2 separate regions of the Homo sapiens genome follow, and region 2 is linked to region 1. The links are contacts of gene promoters, found by promoter capture Hi-C in blood cells and fetal thymus (Javierre and others, 2016). All regions are on one chromosome and are shown on one strand. Each heading gives the region's core, a stretch centred on a gene start or on the middle of the fragment in contact. The rest is flanking DNA. Distances are from core to core; before and after follow the strand shown.

Region 1 (4,466 bases), core at 791-3,290:
TCAGTCCCATTCTCCTCTTTGCCCCCATTCTCAGGGGGAGCAAAAAAGAGCACAAAGGTAGGGGTCTTGGGCCTTCGTTGGTGCCTCCAGGGTTGCTAGCACTACGTACATATCCTTGGGGACTCACTGACCCCATTCCTTGGGGGCCCAACCACCCAGCCCTTCCCACCTCCCAATTTTCAGCCAGTTCCTTACTAGCAGCAGGGCTGCAAACTGCTCGCTGTCATTCTTGGCCTCACGGAGGGCTCCCAGGTAGCGCTCCAGGGTGGGGTTTCGGCCCTCTGCCTGGTTCAGAGCTGGCTCGCAATCCGAGGCCATGATGCTCGCCTTGCCCAACTGTGAACACAAGAGGGACTGAGCATCCCTCTGCAGAGGAGGGACGGGGGTGGGGTGGGGGTGAGAGTGGAGGATGGAGGGAGGGAGGGATTAGCACAGAGGGAGGGGAGGAGAGAATCTGGAGGGGTGGACTCCTCAGGACTGACCTCCCCCCAGAAGCCCCTTTAAGGGGCTGGATCTGCAAATCCTTAGGGATAAAGAAGGGACCCTGGTCCAAGGTCACCTCCAGAAAGCGGGAAAGAAGGACCATGCATGCTGCTGCTCAGCCGGACAGCTCTCCTCACCAGTCTCCTGGGGGTGGGCGGGAGCTGGCCCCACTGCTCAGCTGTCCCCCTGGCACCGGAGGCTGGGTTTTATCTCCCTCCACAGGGACACAGAGGGAGTGAGTGGTGAGGACAGACAGGGAGAAATGGAGACATACATGGGTGAAGTTCGATTATCCGGACTCAGGCTGACATGGGAGAAAAGGACACCCCAGGCTTCCTTTCCCCTCCCTTCTTCAGAGGCAGAGATACGCTTCAGAAGTGAGAATACAAGACGCTCAACAGGGAAGGCTTGGAGGCCCCTTTGGGGACCCCACCCCTCCAGCCAGGGCTCTCAGTCGCCCCCGCAGGCTCCTTGCCTCCTCTCCTTTCCCTCCCTCGGGTAGAGGCTGCAGCAGCAGCAGCAGCGGCGGCGGCAGCAGCAGAATTAACCCCTTGCGCTCCCTCTTCTCGCCCTCCCCGTCCCGCTACCAGCCTGTGGATGCCGGCAGGGGCTGGAGAAGCAAGAGGGGGTCCCGGATAGTTCCCAGGACAACGGAGAATCCAAAAGCCGGATAATCGAAGCAGGGCTGCTGAGATGGGGAGATGAGAAGGGGAGGAGGGTTCCTGGCGGTCACCACCTGTCCCGCCGCAGCCAGGTCACAACACGACATTGATGAAGTCACGACAGGGCGGCGATGAGATCACACTTCACGATGGCGCGGTGATGTCACGGAGAGATCACGTCAAAATCACGACATGGGAGACAGCCCCCAAAGATGACAGGGCAAATTAAAAAAAAAAAAGATATATATTGAAAAGGGCTGTGACAAAATGGAGTCTCGACAGGGCACGATGGTGTCGCGATATGGCGCGATGGAGTCGCGATAGGGTCCCCGGGGTGTGTCGGCATCGATCAGCGCCGGCTCGGAGAGGCCCCGGCTGGGATGCAGGGGAGGGCCCGAAGGGGGCTGAGCTCACCAGGCTGCGGCCCCGAGCGGCGAAGTCTTCTCCCAGCGCGATGCTCCGGGAGCCTCGGGCCGCTGCTCACGCCGCGTTGCCCACTCCTGGCTCCAGGCTGCTGCAGCTCCACCCCCACCCCCGCACCGCTCTTGACGAATCCGCGGCTGCTTCACTCCGGGCTCTGGCCAATGGCAAGTCAGGGTGCTAAGCAGTAGGGGGTGCCGCCGTTGCCGCCATCTTGCTTGTGGGTATTGCCCGAGTCTGGGGGCTGGGGCTCGAGCGAAGGAGGCAAGGTGCAGACTGCCTCTGGAGAGCGGGCGGCGAGAGGCTGGGGGCCCAGATTCCTTCGCTTGTGCGTAGTTTTACCCGCCCAGCACTGCCCCTCCTCCCCCTTGGTCTCGCGGCCGGCATTGCCCTTCCCGGGGGAGGGGCGGGAGGGCTTGGTTAGCATGGAGAGTGTGTTTCCGGGTCGGTCCCGGGGAGGTGGGAGGAGGCGGTGTTTCCGGCCGCCGTCGCTGTCCAGGGAGGCTGAGGCGAGAGGTAGCTGTCCGGGTGGGGAGCCCGCACTACCTTCTTCCTCTTCCTCCTCCTCCTCCGGGTGAGGGGAGCGAAGGTTGGGGGTCCCCGAGCCCATGGACCAGGAGGAGGCGGAGGCCGCCGAGAGCCGGGGCCCCGCTATGTGGCCCTGAGCCCCGGTAGGTGGCCGGGGGCGGCTGGCTGCCAGGCCGAGGACCATGGGCTCAGGGGAGGGGCAAGCGGGACGGGCGATGTCAGCGGCTGCGCTGGCCGGATGTTGGGTCCGGAGGTGGCGCCCCTGGCTCGGCCAGGGCAGCCAGCTGCTTCTGTCCTTGCAGGTGCGCAGCTTGGGTCCCAGGCTGAACCCCGCTTCTCTCGGGCCTGGGCCTAGTCATGCAGCTCCCTCCATCCCCTGAGAGCCAGGCAGACAGCCGGGGTTCGGGGCGCTGCCGTCCTTCTTCCACCTTCGACCTCTGCAGCCTAGTCTTTAGTTGCTGTCTCTGATGTTTGGTCTCTCCACCGAGATAGAAAGTTGGTGCAGAATGAAGAGGGGATGGGGTTGAGCACGATGTGTCCATTATAATGTGAAACCTGCCTCATCCACGATTTTGAAAATTATGCCCCACAGAGGGTCCTGTAGTGGCTGCAGTGAGCACAAAGGTGAAATGAAGGAAGTCAAAATTGATAACCTCTGGCGGGATTCCAGGAACTCTTTGGCTTCTGGTCTCATAGTGGTTGTGTCCAACTGACAGTAGTTGCAGTTAGTGAAGAGCATTAGCTGACTCTCCTTGTGCTCTCTCCTGTGATTAACAGACTGAAAACTAGGAACAAATTGGAAAGACGACCTCCCAGAACAATCTGTTCATTTTTCCAGCTATTTGGAAAACAGTGTCTGCAAATATAAGCAAAGCTATTCATGGCAGTCTGTTCTGTAACTTTCCCAAATATCTGAGACTTTTTAAAAAAGAGCTTTATTCTCGATTACTCATACCAACTGAATAGATTGTTTCAGACGTGCTCCATCGTTGTTCAAACATATCTTATCGCTGTGTACATAAATGGAGTTCCACGTATGTAGTTGACAGACTGAACTGTGATACATCCCCCATCAACCTGAAGTATTAAGTAAACATTACCCCCTGCTCTGTCTGAACAGCTGCTGCAACAGAGAGTGCTTTTATTTTGGGTGTACTTGTAACGCCCTAAATGCCAGAACTATTGTGAGCTTCTCTAGATTTTCATTTGTCAAGTATTGTGGGGGTGTGTGTTCTCTCCCTGGGTTGTTACCCTTTGATTCAGTAACAAACTATTCGGATCTTGGTGATGTGTTGTTGTTCTTGCGTTTGGTCAGCAAGCCTTTAACTGGACCCTAGCAGTGATTTGTGCCCTTAGGCAATTATAGGTTTCAGAGGAATGACTGGTTAGGAGTTCAAATGAAATTAACTCTGCCTTTCTCTTAGACGCAAGATTTATTAGACATGGCACTTCTAATCAGCTTGTTAGTCCAGTGGTGTTTATTACTCCATTTTTCAAAAGCTATTCATTTCTTTTCTGCTTCTCCCACCCACCTGTCAGGCTATTGATGACAGCTGTTGAGTCACCTTGAGTTTTAAATCCTTTTGTGGTAGGCAGAAATGTGTTGGGTAAGATTCATACACACCCATACATGCACACATGCATACTCACTCGTTCCCTCTTGGGAGGCTAGAGAAATTGCTGGATGTACTTTCTAACTTAGGCTCCATTTCATAATCTCTTGAACATGTCTCTGGCCCACACACCTCCTTTCTGCCCCCTGCTCCCTGAAATACAACTACAAAACAACTAGAAATAGGAATGGATGGAAGTGAATGAGAACGATGAAGTCCTTCAGATGCATGTGGTTCTGCAAAAGCCTTTTCTTGGGTGGGCTGCACCTTAGTTTTGCAGCTGTGTGTATGTCTGTGGCTGTTTCTTGGTATTAGTCAGTATTGGTATCCAGCCCAGGCAATGCTGATCTCCCTGTATGCTGGCCGTGGATAGGAGTTAGGGGTTGGCAGCCTGTGTCGTTTGCTGGATGTAGATGACAGGTACATAGTTGGACAGAAGTTTTTGAATTGCTTCTTCAGAACTCAGTCAACCCTCATAATGTTGCCAATATTTACGTACTAATTTAGACAATATAGCAAAGTTTTATATGAGGGGAGAAATTTATGGTAAATGAGTTTTTCTGCTGGAAGAGACCTAAATAATCCAGCCCCTAGATTCTGGAGTAGCCAGCATAGTGCCTGACGTAAGTATCTGTTGAATGCAGGGATTGGGGTGGGTAGCATTGAGGTGTAAATTGAATAGATTTTCATGATAATAGTGGTGGGCGGAGACAGTAGCAGACTGGAGAGTGCATGCCCTGCCTAAAGACATTTGCATTCA
Region 2 (4,466 bases), core at 1,500-3,999, 570 kb after region 1:
GGATCCATTTCTCTACAACCTCACTGACACTGAGTATCAAAATTCAGAAAGGTTGAATATACAGTACAGTCAATACTAGTATACTCTTCATCCAGATTAATGAAATGTTAACTTTTTGCAATATTTATTTTCTTTTTTTTTCTGGATTGTTTGAAAGTAAAACATTATTTTTCTGTCTCTTTTTCTTCCTTTTCTTTCTTTTTTTTGAGATGGAGTTTCACTCTTGTCTCCCAGGCCGGAGTGCAATGACATGATCTCGGCACATTGCAACCTCCGCCTCCCGGGTTCAAGCGATTCTCCTGCCTCAGCCTCTCAAGTAGCTGAGATTATAGGCATGTACCACCATGCCTGGCTAATTTTGTGTTTTTAGTAGAGACGGGGTTTCACCACGTTGGCCTGGCTGGTCTCGAACTCCTGACCTCAGGTGATCTGCCCGCCTTGGCCTCCCAAAGTGCTGGGATTACAGGTGTGAGCCCCATGCCTGGCCTTTTTTTTCTTTTTCTTTAAAAAAATTTTTTGACACCAGTGTCACTCACCAATAAAAAATTTATTCTTTTTGTTTTTTTTTGAGACGTAGTCTCAAGAGTGCAGTGGTGTGATCATGGCTCTCTGCAGGCTCAACCTCCTGGGCTCAGGCAATCCTCTTGCTTTAGCTACCCAAGTAGCTGGGACTATAGGTGTGTGCCATTGCATCCAGCCAATTTTTTTTCTTCTTCTTTTTTTTTTTTTAATGTAGAGATGGAGTTTCGCCATGTTGCCCGGGCTGGTCTCTAACTCCAGGGCTCAAGTGACCCACCCACCTTGGTGTCCCAAAGCACTGGGATTATAGGTGTGAGCCACCCTGCTCAGCCAAAAAGTTTATTGTTAATTTGATGTGTATCATGGTCTTCAGCCCTAATTTCAATAACCTATTGGGTGCTTGGGATTACTTGTACATGTACCACATCCTACAGTTTTATTATACCTAGTGATCAAGCTTTGGGCAAAGGAGAAATTCAGTTTTCAGTAGCATCATTGGAAGTATTATGACTTGTGCTTAAACTTTTACCAGTGCATTCTTTTGATAAATAGAAATAGTAACAAAATATGAATTTTAAATATGTGGGGAGATACATAAAGAACATTGCTTATTTGTTCTTGAAAATAACAGTGATTCAAATATTTCATTCAGATTTACCTATGCCTAATGAAAAAAATGATGCAGAACTTGATTCTCCACCTTCAAAGAAAAAAAGATTAGGTTTTTTCCAGACTTATGATACAGAATATTTAAAAGTTGGTTTTATTATCTGTCCTGGATCAAAAGAAAGTTCACCAAGGCCACAGTGTGTCATTTGTGGAGAGATCTTATCCAGTGAAAACATGAAGCCAGCAAATCTTTCTCATCATTTGAAGACAAAACATTCAGAATTAGAAAACAAACCAGTAGATTTTTTTGAACAAAAATCTTTAGAAATGGAATGTCAAAATAGTTCTTTAAAAAAGTGTTTACTAGTTGAAAAGTCACTTGTGAAAGCTTCTTATTTAATTGCTTTCCAAACTGCTGCAAGCAAGAAGCCATTCTCCATTGCTGAAGAATTAATTAAACCATATTTAGTAGAAATGTGTTCAGAAGTTTTGGGTTCAAGTGCTGGAGACAAAATGAAAACTATTCCACTTTCTAATGTTACAATTCAACACAGGATTGATGAACTATCTGCAGACATTGAAGACCAGCTGATTCAAAAGGTCAGAGAGTCAAAGTGGTTTGCCCTTCAGATAGATGAGTCATCAGAAATCTCAAATATCACACTTCTTTTGTGCTATATTCGTTTCATTGATTATGATTGTCGTGATGTAAAAGAAGAATTATTATTTTGCATTGAAATGCCTACTCAAATAACTGGCTTTGAAATATTTGAACTAATAAATAAATATATTGATAGTAAATCTCTGAATTGGAAACATTGTGTTGGTCTCTGTACCGATGGGGCTGCAAGCATGACTGGCAGGTATTCTGGTTTAAAAGCAAAAATTCAAGAAGTTGCCATGAATACAGCGGCATTTACACATTGTTTTATTCACCGTGAACGTTTAGTGGCAGAAAAGTTGTCTCCATGTTTACATAAAATTCTTTTGCAGTCAGCACAAATTTTAAGTTTTATAAAGAGCAATGCATTAAATTCACGTATGTTAACAATTTTGTGTGAAGAGATGGGATCTGAGCATGTGAGTTTACCGCTTCATGCTGAAGTACGTTGGATATCAAGAGGGAGAATGTTAAAAAGATTATTTGAATTACGACATGAGATTGAAATATTTTTAAGTCAAAAGCATTCAGATTTGGCCAAGTATTTTCATGATGAGGAATGGGTTGGAAAGCTGGCCTACTTATCAGATATATTTTCACTTATAAATGAATTAAATTTAAGTCTCCAAGGAACTTTGACTACTTTCTTCAATTTGTGTAATAAAATTGATGTATTTAAGAGAAAGTTAAAAATGTGGTTGAAGCGCACACAAGAGAATGATTATGACATGTTCCCTTCATTTTCTGAATTCTCAAATTCATCAGGCTTAAATATGACAGACATCACAAGGATTATTTTTGAGCACCTGGAAGGACTTTCTCAAGTGTTCAGTGACTGTTTTCCACCAGAACAAGACTTGCGTTCAGGAAATTTGTGGATAATTCACCCTTTTATGAATCACCAAAATAATAATCTCACCGACTTCGAAGAAGAAAAGCTAACAGAGCTATCTTCAGATTTAGGATTACAAGCACTATTTAAATCAGTGTCTGTAACTCAGTTTTGGATAAATGCAAAGACAAGTTACCCAGAACTCCATGAAAGGGCAATGAAATTTTTATTACCCTTTTCAACTGTTTATTTATGTGATGCTGCCTTTTCAGCTTTGACTGAGTCAAAACAAAAAAATCTGTTGGGTTCTGGCCCTGCCCTAAGACTTGCAGTCACATCTTTAATTCCAAGGATAGAAAAATTAGTGAAGGAGAAAGAGTAGCAATATGCACATTGCTTAACAGTGAAGTCAATAATCCTGTGTTAAGTTTTGTATAAGTATCCTAAAAGATAATTTCCTAATGTGGATTTGTGTTTTCAGTGATTAAATGTTTTAATAATTTTTCCCTTTTTGTTGAGGAATTTAATAATTATGATTGTTATAAATAATTATGTATAATTATAATCTAGGGTAGAAAATTTAGTTATTTCATTAAATTTGGACTAGTGACAAAGACTGCAGGTAATGAGAAGCCCAGTTTATAATGTAACAGCACAACCTGGATGTTGAAACAGCTTGGCCTTTAGAAGCAAGTGGAACATTTCAGTCTTCTAGCCAACCAGCTACTTACCCCTGCAAGGTTGTGAGTAGGTGGAAAAGATAGATCTTTTTTTTGAGATGGAGTTTTGCTCTTGTTGCCCAGGCTGGAGTGCAATGGCGTGATCTTGGCTCACTGGAACCTCTGCCTCCTAGGTTCAAACAATTCTCCTGCCTCAGCCTTCCAAGTAGCTGGGGTTACAGGCATGTGCCACCATGCCCGTCTATTGTATTTTTTTTAGTAGAGACGGGGTTTCACCATATTGGTCAGGCTGGTCTCTATCTCCTGACCTCAAGTGATCCACCTGCCTCGGCCTCCCAAAGTGCTGGGATTACAAGTGTGAGCCAACGTGCCCAGCTGGAAAAAGATAGATCTAAGCAGCTTGGGTAACTATAAATGGAAGCAGCAGGGGGATTTGAGACCCCTGCTTGGGGCCTTTCTGGCCCAATATACCAGGGCTTAGCAAACTTTTTAAATAAAGAGCCAGATAGTAAATATTTTCAGCTTTGCAGGCCATACTGTCACAACTACTCAATTCTGCAGTTGCAGTGCAAAAGCAGCCATAGACAATATGCAGATAAGTGTGGCTGTTTTTAAATAAAACTTATTCATGAACACTGAAATATGAATTTCATATAATTTTCCTATGTCACACAAGCTTCTTTAAAAAATGTTTTTATCATAAAAAATGTAAACAAACATTATTAGCTTGGGGGAAGGGGAGAAGCATGGAAAAAAATCAGACATCTGGCCAAATTTGGCCCATGGTTTGCCCATCCCAGCTTTAGACAGATTTCCAGGTAAGAGCAAATGGGCCAGGAGTGGACTGTAGGGCTTGGTTCAGTGAAAGCCTCTCTATCCATGCAAGTATCTGAATTTTCAAACACCTTTCACATTTCATTGTCAGCCGAGATAAATTAGAGGGAAAAGATATCTCAGGCAAAGAGACTTATTTAATAATTAATGGTTATTGATTTATTACAATTTTATAAATTAATTTACTAATTTACAAATAACTTTCTGAGCTCTTACATGTGCAGGCACTGTGCTAGGCCTGTTACAAACTCTGGAGAACTGAGTTATCCCCATATACAGATGCAGATACTGAGGCCCTTTGGGGTGGGTGACAGCTCAGATCCCACAGCTA

What was found. Contacts are between HindIII fragments. The CHiCAGO score rates a contact against its expected background, and 5 or more counts as called.
Region 2: a fragment that was not itself captured here is called in contact with the fragment with the promoter of KIAA0319L in region 1 in 1 of 17 cell types (erythroblasts); the score reaches 5.4 in erythroblasts.

What each region holds. Positions count from the first base shown.
Region 1 is chr1:35,554,977-35,559,442 of GRCh38, reverse strand. It overlaps KIAA0319L (KIAA0319 like), which reads left to right and starts at 2,040. Exons shown (of 21, transcript NM_024874.5): 1 at 2,040-2,236. It overlaps NCDN (neurochondrin), which reads right to left and starts at 1,644. Exons shown (of 7, transcript NM_014284.3): 1 at 1,220-1,644; 2 at 196-336. The coding sequence starts at 1,252. RefSeq lists enhancers at 1-428, 1,807-1,866, 1,156-1,882, 1,883-2,610, 3,411-4,366 and 1 more and silencers at 816-1,025, 2,097-2,236, 2,247-2,346. The HindIII fragment of the contact is 13,260 bases long and covers 1-4,466 here.
Region 2 is chr1:34,985,641-34,990,106 of GRCh38, reverse strand. ZMYM6 (zinc finger MYM-type containing 6) reads left to right here. Exons shown (of 16, transcript NM_007167.4): 16 at 1,172-3,942. The coding sequence ends at 3,003. Among named protein-coding and RNA genes, the nearest start is that of TMEM35B, 2.5 kb to the right of the region's middle. The HindIII fragment of the contact is 2,461 bases long and covers 1,519-3,979 here.